4 separate regions of the Homo sapiens genome follow, and all the other regions are linked to region 1. Evidence: promoter capture Hi-C in human tissues and cell types (Jung and others, 2019). All regions are on one chromosome and are shown on one strand. The core of a region is centred on a gene start or on the middle of the fragment in contact, and the rest is flanking DNA. Distances in the headings are between cores, read along the strand shown.

What was found. Contacts are between HindIII fragments. The study calls those that stand out against the background at their distance.
Region 2: a fragment that was not itself captured here is called in contact with the fragment with the promoter of YARS2 in region 1 in 1 of the 25 tissues and cell types used here (dorsolateral prefrontal cortex).
Region 3: a fragment that was not itself captured here is called in contact with the fragment with the promoter of YARS2 in region 1 in 1 of the 25 tissues and cell types used here (dorsolateral prefrontal cortex).
Region 4: a contact is called between a fragment that was not itself captured here and the fragment with the promoter of YARS2 in region 1, in 1 of the 25 tissues and cell types used here (dorsolateral prefrontal cortex).

What each region holds. Positions count from the first base shown.
Region 1 is chr12:32,754,383-32,757,402 of GRCh38, forward strand. It overlaps YARS2 (tyrosyl-tRNA synthetase 2), which reads right to left and starts at 1,515. Exons shown (of 5, transcript NM_001040436.3): 1 at 714-1,515. The coding sequence starts at 1,492. RefSeq lists enhancers at 455-1,094, 651-810, 1,095-1,734, 1,181-1,280, 1,301-1,530 and 1 more. The HindIII fragment of the contact is 8,220 bases long and covers 1-3,020 here.
Region 2 is chr12:33,962,258-33,965,277 of GRCh38, forward strand. No RefSeq gene overlaps it. Among named protein-coding and RNA genes, the nearest start is that of ALG10, 59 kb to the right of the region's middle. The HindIII fragment of the contact is 4,025 bases long and covers 1-3,020 here.
Region 3 is chr12:33,929,872-33,932,891 of GRCh38, forward strand. No RefSeq gene overlaps it. Among named protein-coding and RNA genes, the nearest start is that of ALG10, 91 kb to the right of the region's middle. The HindIII fragment of the contact is 3,937 bases long and covers 1-3,020 here.
Region 4 is chr12:31,723,180-31,726,199 of GRCh38, forward strand. The region is part of intron 1 of AMN1 (antagonist of mitotic exit network 1 homolog); the gene reads right to left. It overlaps LOC105369722 (a long non-coding RNA gene), which reads left to right and starts at 610. Exons shown (of 3, transcript XR_931497.3): 1 at 610-738; 2 at 1,389-1,460. The HindIII fragment of the contact is 6,979 bases long and covers 1-3,020 here.

The sequences.
Region 1 (3,020 bases), core at 265-2,764:
AGACACTAAAGGAAATCTTCTAAACGCCTTTTAAACATGTGCTTTGCTCTGTTGCACATGAGCTAGCCCTATCCTTCACCTCTCTCAAGAAAATGCTATTAGACCCGCATTACTTGTCAATTATTTGGAGTTGAAAAAACTTTTTGAGATACCAACCAAGGACTAACACTAGTTTCATGGAGGGTGCAGAGCTAAAGCAGAGGCTAGCTACTCAAGGAGGCCCAGTCACGTTCTGGTATAAACACACAAAAGCAGTTTCTCTAATTAGAGAGGACGACTTAGGCGAAGCAAAACAGACCGACCAAATCTTCACTAGTGGTCTGTTTCCCTTTTTTTTTTTTTTTTTTTTGAGACGGAGTCTCCCTCTGTTGCCCCAGGCTGGAGTGCAGTGGCGCGATCTCGGCTCACTGAAACCTTCGCCTCCCGGGTTCAAGAGATTCTCCTGCCTCAGCCTCCCGAATAGCTGGGATTACAGGCGTGCATCACCACGCCCAGCTAATTTTTAGAATACACCGTTTACTCTTAATACCCTTAATTCAGCCCTTTAATTCTTATTAGCCAGTGTTATTAACGCCATTATAGAGCCTTAATGGGGATAAAACCAACAAGAGCTGGAACGAAGGGCAGCAACTACAATCCTAAGAGTGAATCACAGGCTACTAGTGTGTAAATTATTTGGTCCCAGGATTTCCCCAAGGTTTAAAGGCACTTACTTGTTGATGAACTCATATCCGGACATGATGTTGCCTAGTTGATCAGATCCGCCCAGCTGGACCCTGCATCCATAACGCTGGAAGAGGTAATAGAAGTCATAGGCCTGGAGCACCTGGTAAAAGAACTCGGCCAAGCTCATGCCCTCGGGGCTCTTGAGCCGCAGCTGCACGCTCTGCCGGCTCAGCAGCGTCCCCATGCGGAAGTGACCCCCCACTGCCGCCAGGAAGTCCACCAGGTGCTGCTTCTGGTACCAGGCCGAGTTGTCCAGCACAGTGAAGCTGCCCCAGGAGCGCCCATCAGTGAAAAGCTGCTGGTGATTAGCCGCCAGGGCCTCAAGCCCTAGGCGCAGAGCTCGCGCGTTGGCTCGCACGCGCTCTGTCTCCAGCGCCTCGCGTTCCTTGGTACGGCCGCTCGGGTCTCCCAGGCGCGCCGTGGCGCCTCCCACCAGCGCGATCACGTTGTGGCCCGCTCGCTGCAAATGAAACAGGCCCAGCAGCGCAAGTAGATGACCCACATGAAGCGAGTCTGCCGTGGGGTCGAAGCCACAGTAAATGGTTTGGGGAAAACTCGCCGTGCCACGGTCGAAGAGCTCTGGGAGCTCTATTTTCGTCCCCGTCTCCGGGAAGAAGTCCTTGAACAGACCTCGAGCCTTCTGCGCTGCCAGTAACCCCTGAGCGCCCGAGTGGGCCTTACGCAGCCCCAAGGGCAACAATACTGAGAGATTTAGGGTACCAGACCACCGGCCCCAGGAAAAGGACCGCAAGATGGGCGCCGCCATCTTGGTAGCGGCACGAAGGGAATGCTGGGATTGCAGAGGCTCCCACCACACCCACCTACTTACAGCTCCTAGGGAAGGTGCTTCAGTGTTTTTCTGCGCATGCCCGAGACGGTTACGTAGTTACGGAGCTTGCGCTCTCAGCAGTTGAGTCCCGACTCCAAGTGGCGATTCCGCCTCAGAGCCGTCGCCTTACGTTCCCTTAAACTTAATTTTTCCATCAGCAGTGTGGATCTGCTTATGATAGTTCCTACCTCATAAGGCTGTTGTGAGCCTTAAAAATTAAAGCATTTGGCACATAACGCTTCACAAATGCTAACTTGTATTTACATTTTCACGTAAAAAGATTGTGATGCGCAAGTTCTTTGAAGTCTTGGTTCCATGCAAAAAGCTGTTCACAGAGGTTGAGAAAGGTTAGGAATTGGTTTAAGTTCGCGGAGAGATAGGGAGTTGCTGCTGAGACGCAAGCAATTTCATAGTACCGATTCCCTAATTGCACCTCGTCCCCAGTATTCATCGGCTCTTCCAGGAGGTGGCAGTCTTGTCCAAGGTATAGCAAGAAAAACTCAGTGCAATAAAGTACATGCATCAAGTCCTGTGGTTTATTTATTTTAAATACAGTTAACTAGGTTGGGACACAGCTTAGCATGAGTGGATTCAAGTTAGTAATCACATCGTGCAGCGTGACAGGTGCTCTGAATACTGACCAGGGATGAGGTTCTTATTGGCAGCTGGCTGGCAGGTGATCTAGCTTCAAAATCCCATGTTAGAGCCTGATTTCTAGGACCGCTTTCAAAATCGTCTTAGGTAGAATTCCCTGGACTCTGAGTTGGGGGGGAGACTGGTTTGCAGGAGGGTAATTGGAGTGTGCTCTTAAGAACAACACCTATAATGGAGTGAGGGAGGCCGGGTTGGGCGGAGGGAGAAAGAAGTTGAACTGTGAACAATTTGTAATAGAGGCCTCAGGCAATCCAGTAAGGGCTCTGGAGCCGGGATTTCCTTTCAGAGTCATCCTGAATTGAGGCCAGGGGGCAGACCTTTAGACCCTCTTACTGACTGCTCATTAAATGTGGGATGTTTCTGGGGAGGAAGCAAAACGCTGGGTTAAGGCTTTTGGAGAGTGAGATGTGCAGGAAGGGACTCAGCTGTGAGCAATAAGCAACCAACACTCCCAGCAGCTGGGGGATTGAGTGCCTTGGTCCTGTGACTGGGATCTGGGCCATGTTCCAAATCATTCCCTACAGGACTTTTCCATTTTTTAACGTTATAAAGTTATCTAACAAAATGAAAACTTATTTTAATAATTAGTTTCTTTGCATGTATAATTATCAGTGAATTAGTTTCTCATTGCCAAATAGTAACTTCAATAGGATTTTGAGATACTCATTCAATAGGCTATTAAACATACTCCCAACTGCTTAAGAAAATAGTGTGTTCAAAATATCTTAAAATTTGCAATCATAACCTGTTGATCTTCAGTGTTTTTTTTTTTTTTAAGTGTCACTCTGTTGTCCACACTGGAGTGCCGTGG
Region 2 (3,020 bases), core at 273-2,772, 1.2 Mb after region 1:
GTATAGAGATTGAGCCCTAGTGAAATAGAGTATGGAACAGTGTGTTTGGAGCTCAGAGACAATAGCTTCATGAATGGCACTGCTGTTCCCTTGTCTAACGGTCCCTCCTGGCCCTATGGGTTTCATACCGGTTAGATTTACACTGGTCCCTATTTCTGTTAACAAATAAAGCACAGTTTTAGAATCGTATCATTAGTGAAGAGAGATAGTGTGACTTGTTTTCCTATTTGGATGATTTTATTTCTCTTGTCAGATTGCTCTGGCTAGCATATCTAGTGCTATGTTGAATAGGAGTGATGACAGTGAGCATTCTTATCTATTCTAGATCTCTGAAAGGGGAATGCTTTCAGTTTTTGTCTGTCCAGTGTGATGTTGGCTGTGAGTTTGTCATAAAAGGCTCTTATTGTTTCGAGGTATGTTCCTTCAATGCCTATTTTCTTGAGGGTTTTTTTTTTAATCATGAAGAGGTGTTAGATTTTATTGAAAGCTTTTCTGTATCTGTTGGGATGATCATATGGTTTTTGTTTTTAATTCTGATTATTTGTGAATCACATTTATTGATTTGCATATATTAAATCAACTTTGCAATTTATGAATGAAGCCTATTAGTCTGTGGGTCTATGGTAAATTAACTTTGTGATATGCTGCTGGACTCAAGTTTGCCAGTATTTTGTTGAGGATTTTTGCATTTACATCCATCAAGGGTATAGGCCTGTATCATCATCAGGTATATTTGAAGAACAGAAATACATTTTTTAAAACTCATGATAATGGGATGACATCTTTAACACTTTTCCCATTTAGAAAAAAAAGTGCAGCTTGCTGCCAGAGTTCATTTAATTTTACATAAACATGCTCTTTGAGGCTGAAGCAAATCTGACTGATTTTCAATATGAAAATAAAATGTAAAAACTGTTCTTGGAGTTATTTCTAAACAGAACTAACATCAGAATCATGTGAATCATCAGAATCATCTATTTTGGAAAACTGGATTCATCAACTGAATCTTTGGCCAACAAGGATATTGGCCAGCATTATCATTGGATGATGCCTGCTTCACAGAAGGAGCTAGGGAGGAGTTTCTCTTCCTTAGGAATAGTTTCAGTAGAATTGGTACCAGCTCTTTTTTGTACATCTGGTAGAATTCGGCTGTGAATCCAGGGCCTTATTTGGTTCATAGGGTTTTTTAAATTATTATTACAGATTCAATTTTGGAACTTGATATTGGCCTATTTAGAGTTTCAATTTATTCCCGATTCAATCTGTGGAAATTGCATGTTTCTAAGAATTTACCCGTTTCCTCTAGATTTTCTAGTTTGTGTGCATAGAGGTGTTTTGTAATAGTCTGAGGATCTTTTGTATTTCTGTGTATTCCTCAATTGTGATAGAACATTGGATTGTCTTTTGTTAACTCAACATCATCTTCACCCCTGCTAGGAATCCTTCTAAATAAATTTCCCAACATCTTCTTCCCTATGTGGTTCTATGTTAACATCTGTCAATGAGAAACCATCTCACACTGTTTAGAAGATGTGACTAAAAGAGACAGTTGCAGGCAGACAAGTAGGCAGATGGCAGTTATATGATTTTCTGACAGTCTCCTGTGAATCACTCACTACAGTTTAGCTGAAACATATTATAGTAAATTTTTGTTAATCACTTGAGTTGGTTCTGCAAATTAAGATAGTCAGTGGGAGGCTCCCAGAGGTTCTTAAATTCCCAGCAATTTCTAGGTGAAATCCACCTCAGAGTTCAAATTGAGATCATCTTTTCTGAATTCTGATTCCTCATCCTAGATAGCAGTTATATATGCCTCTAATTTCATGTGTTACAATTCTTTGTAATTACAATATAGAATGTTTTCCATTTTCTTGCCTGAAGCCTGACTGATATACATAGACAAGACTCAATATTTTCACTACCAAAAATTAGTCCCATGCAAAATTTGGCTCTGTTATTTCTGGGAATACCTAAAATTGGATCTTAAGAGCATGTAATAGATACGGTCACTGCAATGTATCATGTATGACACATACATTTCCATAATCCCATTTTACACCTTGTAAAGACAATTGGAAAAGCTTAAGCACTGTCACTGCCCATGAAGACAAGGAATATTATCCATCCTCAAGAAGATTTTCATGTACGCTCTCACCACATATGTCATTTTCACCCAGAGAAAGGTAGAAGAGCCTCCTCCCTAGGTTTGAGACACACTTTTCCACTGGAGCTCTTCTTGTACCCAGAGTTTTACAAATCTCTCTGAACACTCTCATGAAATTATTTCCTTCCAAGAATCTCACCAAATCTCTCACGAAAAAAAAAGTTATTTCCTTTAACCAGATGACTTCGTTTGCAGTACTGGATTGGGGAGACGCCATAATATCTGCATAGTCCTCCTCCATTTCATTTTTCCTCCCACCCACCCCCACCACAAAAATAAATTTGTTTTACCTGGTAACCAATGATCCTTTTATCATATTAACCAATGCAAACCTCACAGGATGTTAAAATGGTATTTTTCTTGTCTCCATGTTAGCTGAAGCATAAAGACAATACACATACCTTCCAAAATGACAGCATTTTACTGCACTTTTAAAGTGGATAAAAGAAAAAATAATTCTTAACTCCATCATTTACATTGAGGACAAAAAGATTCCTAGAAAATTTATAAAGAGGGTATTTGGAAGTGGTTATTGCTGTGTGGGAAGCTTCAGTCTGCTCCTTGTCAAAGTGAAGGGCTAGGATTGGGTTTCCTTTTCTTCATCCAAGCCTAGCGTGGAGGCCATGAGGATGTGCACTGTAAACTTCCAAACTAAGAGCCCAGTTTCTGTATACTGAAATCTATTGTGTTACCCTCAGGCAACAGCCTAGAATTAGAAGAATACTGTGGCCAACCCATTACAGATAAATATGGGACTTCTCTGATAGCCAGCTTTGGCTTACAAGTTCCTCCAACAGCCTTTGCTGAGCTTTCCTTAGACTGCACTGCAGTCTAGGACCCTTCCAACTTGGCTTCC
Region 3 (3,020 bases), core at 174-2,673, 1.2 Mb after region 1:
GGAAATACAGAGAACACCACAAAGATACTCCTCAAGAAGAGCAAGTCCAAGACACATAATTGTGAGATTCACCAAAGTTGAAATGAAGGAAAAAATGTTAAGGGCAGCCAGAGAGAAAGGTCAGGTGACCCACAAAGGGAAGCCCATCAGACTAATAGCTGATCTCTCGGTAGAAACTCTACCAGCCAGAAGAGAGTGGGGGCCAATATTCAACTTTCTTAAAGAAAAGATTTTTCAACCCAGAATTTCATATCCAGCCAAATTAAGCTTCATAAGTGAAGGAGAAATAAAATCCTTTACAGACAAGCAAATGCTGAGAGATTTTGTCACCACCAGGCCTGCTCTACAAGAGCTCCTGAAGGAAGAACTAAATATAGAAAGGAACAACTGTACCAGTCACTGCAAAAACATGACAAATTGTAAAGGCCATCAATGCTAGGAAGAAACTGCATCAACTAACGAGCAAAATAACCAGCTAACATCATAATTACAGGATCAAATTTACACATAAAAATATTAACCTTAAATGTAAATGGGCTAAATGCTCCAATTAAAAGACACAGACTGGCAAACTGGATAAAGAGTCTATAGCTCCCAGCATGAGCGATGCAGAAGATGGGTGATTTCTGCATTTCCAACTGAGGTACCAGGTTCATCTCACTGGGGAGTGTCGGACAGTGGGCGCAGGACAGTGGGTGCAGCATACTGAGCATGAGCTGAAGCAGGGTGAGGCATCACCTCACCCGGGAAGTGCAAGGGGTCAGGGAATTCCTTTCCTAGGCAAAGAATGAGGTGACAGATGGCATCTGGAAAATCAGGTCACTCCCACCCTAATACTGTGCTTTTCCAAAAGTCTTAGCAAATGGCACACCAGGAGATTATATCCTGCGCATGGCTTGGAAGGTGCTACACCCATGGAGCCTTGCTCATTGCTAGCACAGCAGTCTGAGATCAAACTGCAAGGCGGCAGCAAGGCTGGGGGAGGTGTGTCCACCATTGCTGAGGCTTGAGTAGGTAAACAAAGTGGCTGGGAGGCTCGAACTGGGTGGAGCCCACTGCATCTCAAGGAGGCCTGCCTGTCTCTGTAGACTCCACCTCTGGGGGCAGGGCATAGCCAAACAAAAGGCAGCAGAAAACTGTGCAGACTTAAATGTCCCTGTCAGCTTTGAAGAGATTAGTGGTCTGACAGCTTTGAAGAGAGTAGTGGTTCTCCCAGCACGCAGCTGGAGATCTGAGAATGGACAGACTGCCTCCCCAAGTGGGTCCCTGACCCCTGAGTAGCCTAACTGGGAGGCACCGCCCAGTAGGGGCAGACTGACACCTCACACAGCCGGGTACTCCTCTGAGACAAAACTTCCAGAGGAACGATCAGGCAGCAACATTTGCTCTTCACCAATATCCACTGTTCTGCAGCCTCCATTGCTGATACCAAGGAAAACAGGGTCTGGAGTGGACCTCCAGGAAACTCCAACAGACTTGCAGCTGAGGGTCCTGACTGGTAAAAGGAAAACTAACAAATGGAAAGGACATCCACACCAAAACCCCATCTCTACGTCATCATCACAAAGACCAAAGGTAGATAAAACCACAAAGATGGGGAAAAAACAGAGCAGAAAAACTGGAAACTCTAAAAATCAGAGCGTCTCTCCTGCTCCAAAGGAACGCAGCTCCTCACCAGGAATGGAACAAAGCTGGATGGAGGATGACTTTGACAAGTTGAGAGAAGAAGGCTTCAGATGATCAAACTTCTCCGAGTTAAGGAGGAAGTTTGAACCCATGGCAAAGAAGATAAAAACCTTGAAAAAAGATTAGACGAATGGCTAACTAGAATAACCAATGCAGAGAAGTCCTTAAAGGACCTGATGGAGCTGAAAACCAAGGCACGAGAACTACGTGACGAACGCACAAGCCTCAGTAGCCGATTGGATCAACTGGAAGAATGGGTATCAGTGATGGAAGATCAAATGAATGAAATGAAGCGAGAAGAGAAGTTTAGAGAAAAAAAATAAAAAGAAACCAATAAGGCCTCCAAGGAATATGGGACTATGTGAAAAGACCAAATCTATGTCTGATTGGTGTACCTGAAAGTGATGGGGAGAATTGAACCAAGTTGGAAAACACTCTGTTAGATATTATCCAGGTGAAATTCCCCAATCTAGCAAGGCAGGACAGTATTGAAATTCAGAAAATACAGAGAACAACACAAAGATACTCCTTGAGAAGAGCAACTCCAAGACACATAATTGTCAGATTCACCAAAGTTGAAATGAAGGAGAAAATGTTAAGGGCAGCCAGAGAGAAAGGTCGGGTCACTCACAAAGGGAAGCCCATCAGACTAACAGCTGATCTCTCGGCAGAAACTCTACAAGCCAGAAGACAGTGGGGGCCAGTATTCAACATTCTTAAAGAAAAGAATTTTCAACCCAGAATTTCATATCCAGCCAAACTAAGCTTCATAAGTGAAGGAGAAATAAAATACTTTACAGACAACAAATGCTGAGGAATTTTGTCACCACCAGGCCTCCCCTAAAAGAGCTCCTGAAGGAAACACTAAACATGGAAAGGAAAAACCAGTACCAGCCACAGCAAAAACATGCCAAAATGTAAAGACCATTGAGGCTAGGAGGAAACTGCATCAACTAACGAGCAAAATAACCAGCTAACATCATAATGACAGGATCAAATTCACACATAACAATATTAACCTTAAATGTAAATGGGCTAAATGCTCCAATTAAAAGACACAGACTGGCAAATTGGATAAAGAGTCAAGACCCATCAGTGTGCTGTATTCAGGAAACCCATCTCATGTGCAGAGACACACATAGGCTCAAAATAAAGAGATGGAGAAAGATCTACAAAAAAAACAAAAAAAAAAGGCAGGGGATGCAATCCTAGTCTCTGATAAAACCGACTTTAAACCAACAAAGATCAAAAGAGACAAAGAAGGCCATTACATAATGGTAAAGGGATCAATTCAACAAGAAGAGCTAACTATCCTAAATATATATGCACCCAAT
Region 4 (3,020 bases), core at 212-2,711, 1.0 Mb before region 1:
TTTTATTGGAACACTGCCTTTGACTGACACACACACAAACACACACGCACACACACACCACCCCTGGGGCTATTGTTAATGTGTTACAGTTGTTGACATTTTTTCAGGTTATGGTTTCATGGTTTCAGTCTGATCAACCAACTCCAGCCACACTGATCAAAGTGTGTTATGTTTTTGGTTTTCCAGACCACTGCGATCTCGGCTCACTGCAAGCTCCGCCTCCTGGGTTCACACCATTCTCCTGCCTCAGCCTCCTGAGTAGCTGAGACTACAGGCGCCCGCCACTATGCCCGGCTAAGTTTTTGTATTTTTAGTAGAGACAGGGTTTCACCATGTTAGCCAGGATGGTCTCGATCTCCTGACCTCGTGATCCACCCGCCTCGGCCTCCCAAAGCAGACCACTTTCACTCTGACAATGATAGGTCTTTTACTGCAAAGGTTGCTCAACAATGAGCCGATAGTCAAGGTATTCAACAGATGTTTCACACCCCTTATCATCCTCAGGCTGCTGCCATTTCTTTATGTGTTGTCTGTGGCTGCTTGTGTTCTACAATGGCAGAGCTGAGTAACTGTGTCAGAGGGTGTGTAGCCTACAAAGCTGAAAATATTACTCTCTGGCCCTTCACAGAAAGGTTACCAACTCCTGCCCTAGATAACAAAGATAACTACCACTTGGTTGAGGATACTGCTCACCAAGTACCCCTACAGTGACCCACACCAGTCAAGCAAGGAAACAAGGTAAGTCTGTGTAAACTTTATAAAAATGCTCTTGTTCCTCTTGCACATGACCTCTGTGAGTAGGGGATTAGAGAAAAGTAAAGCATTTGAAGTGACTGACAATCACTCCTGTTATATAGCAGATCCCCTTTATCCATGGGAAAAACATTCTAAGACTCCCTGTGGACACCTGAAATCATGGATAGTACTGAATCCTAAATCCTATATATACACCCTGCATTTACTATGCAGACATACCTGTGGTAAAGTTTAATATATAAATTAGGCACAGTAAGAGATGAACAACAACAACAATAAAATAGAACAGTTATAACAACATCTACAAGGATTGGGTGGAAAAATAAAAAATACATGTAACAATATGCCAGCATCAGTACTCTTGTGCTCTGGTGCAATTGTTAAGTAATATCAGGGTTATGTGAATGCAGTAGCCCTGCGACAATAGCTCTGATAACCAAGAAGGCTACTAAATGGACAGCATGGATATGCTGAACGAAGGCAGAATTCACATCCTGGGCAGACAGGGCAGGGTGGCATGAGATTTCATCATGCTACTCAAAATGGTGCATAATTTAAAATTTATGAATTGTTTCTTCCTAGAATTTTCCATTTAACATATATATATATTTTTTTACCATGGTTGACTGCAGGTACCTGAAACTGCCGAAACAAAACAGCACATAAGGAGAGACTACTGTATTTTGCTTTATGCAAGATTTCAGGTATATTTCAATATGTTACCTTTTTCCTACAACATGGCTCTCTGCCCCCCACCGCCACCTTTTTCTCTCAGTCTCTTTCATCTTAGCCCTTTAGTATGCTCTTCTCTGAGCTCAGCAGTGCAGAGGCTGTACCATGTGTTTCCCAAAGTAAATGGTTTCCTCTTTCTGCTCCAGTTCCCTCCAGCTGCAATAGCAGGGAGTTGGGACAGAAACAAATCAAATAGTTCTTAAAATTCTGGGAGGACTATTGAATGGCCACAAAGCCCATCCAGAAACCCTGCTGGTCAAACAAATTGATTAAATTTGTCAAATCATGTATTACATTTACTACAGCAAGGGAGATCATCTTGACAGGGTTTTGGTAGCATTTCAATAGAGGAATGTTAGGCAAGAGTATACATAAGTTTCTGGGATATAAACGCCACCAGTTTAAGTGGGTGCTTCTCCCCCCACAGTGGCGAATGGGTAAGGATTAGGCAAAGTTTGTGACTTAGTTTAAAACGGATGGACACAAAAAGCCAGGCTTGATGAGCAATCTGTCCAGATAAACATAATGTTTGTCCTAAAAATCAAAATGTTTGTCCTGATAGCTGTTTATTTAGATAAACTGATTTGCAAAAATTTCCTAGAGCAAAAAGTTAGGTTGACATAAGTGGTGTTGATTCTCAGGCCCCACAGTTGGCACAGGCAGTCTCATTTCTCAAGACAAAATGAAAAGAAGTCAGCTAAAACTTATAATCTTTAAAAGCTGTAAAACAATTGGGGAGACGGGTGGATATCCCAACCAATAATAGTTGCTCTACGTTTTATACTTAAAAGAAACAACCTATTACTATTTGGCCAAATCATCATATGGTGAATTGATCTAACAAATAAAAGAGTTTTGGCAACATGGACTGCTTCTAATGTAAGTGTTACATAAAATTTTGTCCTTGACTTTCTTTTTTTCTCTCTATAGCCCTCTTTTAAACTTAACCATGGCTTCCTATCATCTACAAAGTTATACCCCCAATCTTAGTTTCAATCCTTGATCTCTCTTCATTTTATTTGTGTATTTATGTATTTATTTATTTAGAGATGGAGTCTCACTCTGTTGCCCAGGCTGGAGTGCAGTAGCACCATCTTGGCTCACTCCAAGCTCCGCCTCCTGGGTTCAAGCAATTCTCCTGTCTCAGCCTCCCAAGTAGCTGGGAATACACATGTGCACCACCATGCCCAGTTAATTTTTTTTGTATTTTTGGTAGAGACAGGGTTTCACCATGTTGGCTAGGCTGGTCTCGAACTCCTGACCTCAAGTGATTCACCTGCCTCGGCCTCCCAAAGTGTTGGGATTACAGGCATGAGCCACTGCACCCAGCCTAATCCTTGATCTTTCTTTCAGATTCAAAATTATATTCTAACTGCCTGCTTGATATTTCTACTGGATATTCTGATTCATTTTCCCCGTAAGACACTTCTTCCTCCATAATAGTCTAATCACCATTCTACCTGTCAACGAAGCTAAAACTAAAAGAGTAATTTCTTTTTTTTTTTTTTGGGGGGACGGAGTTTCGCTCTTGT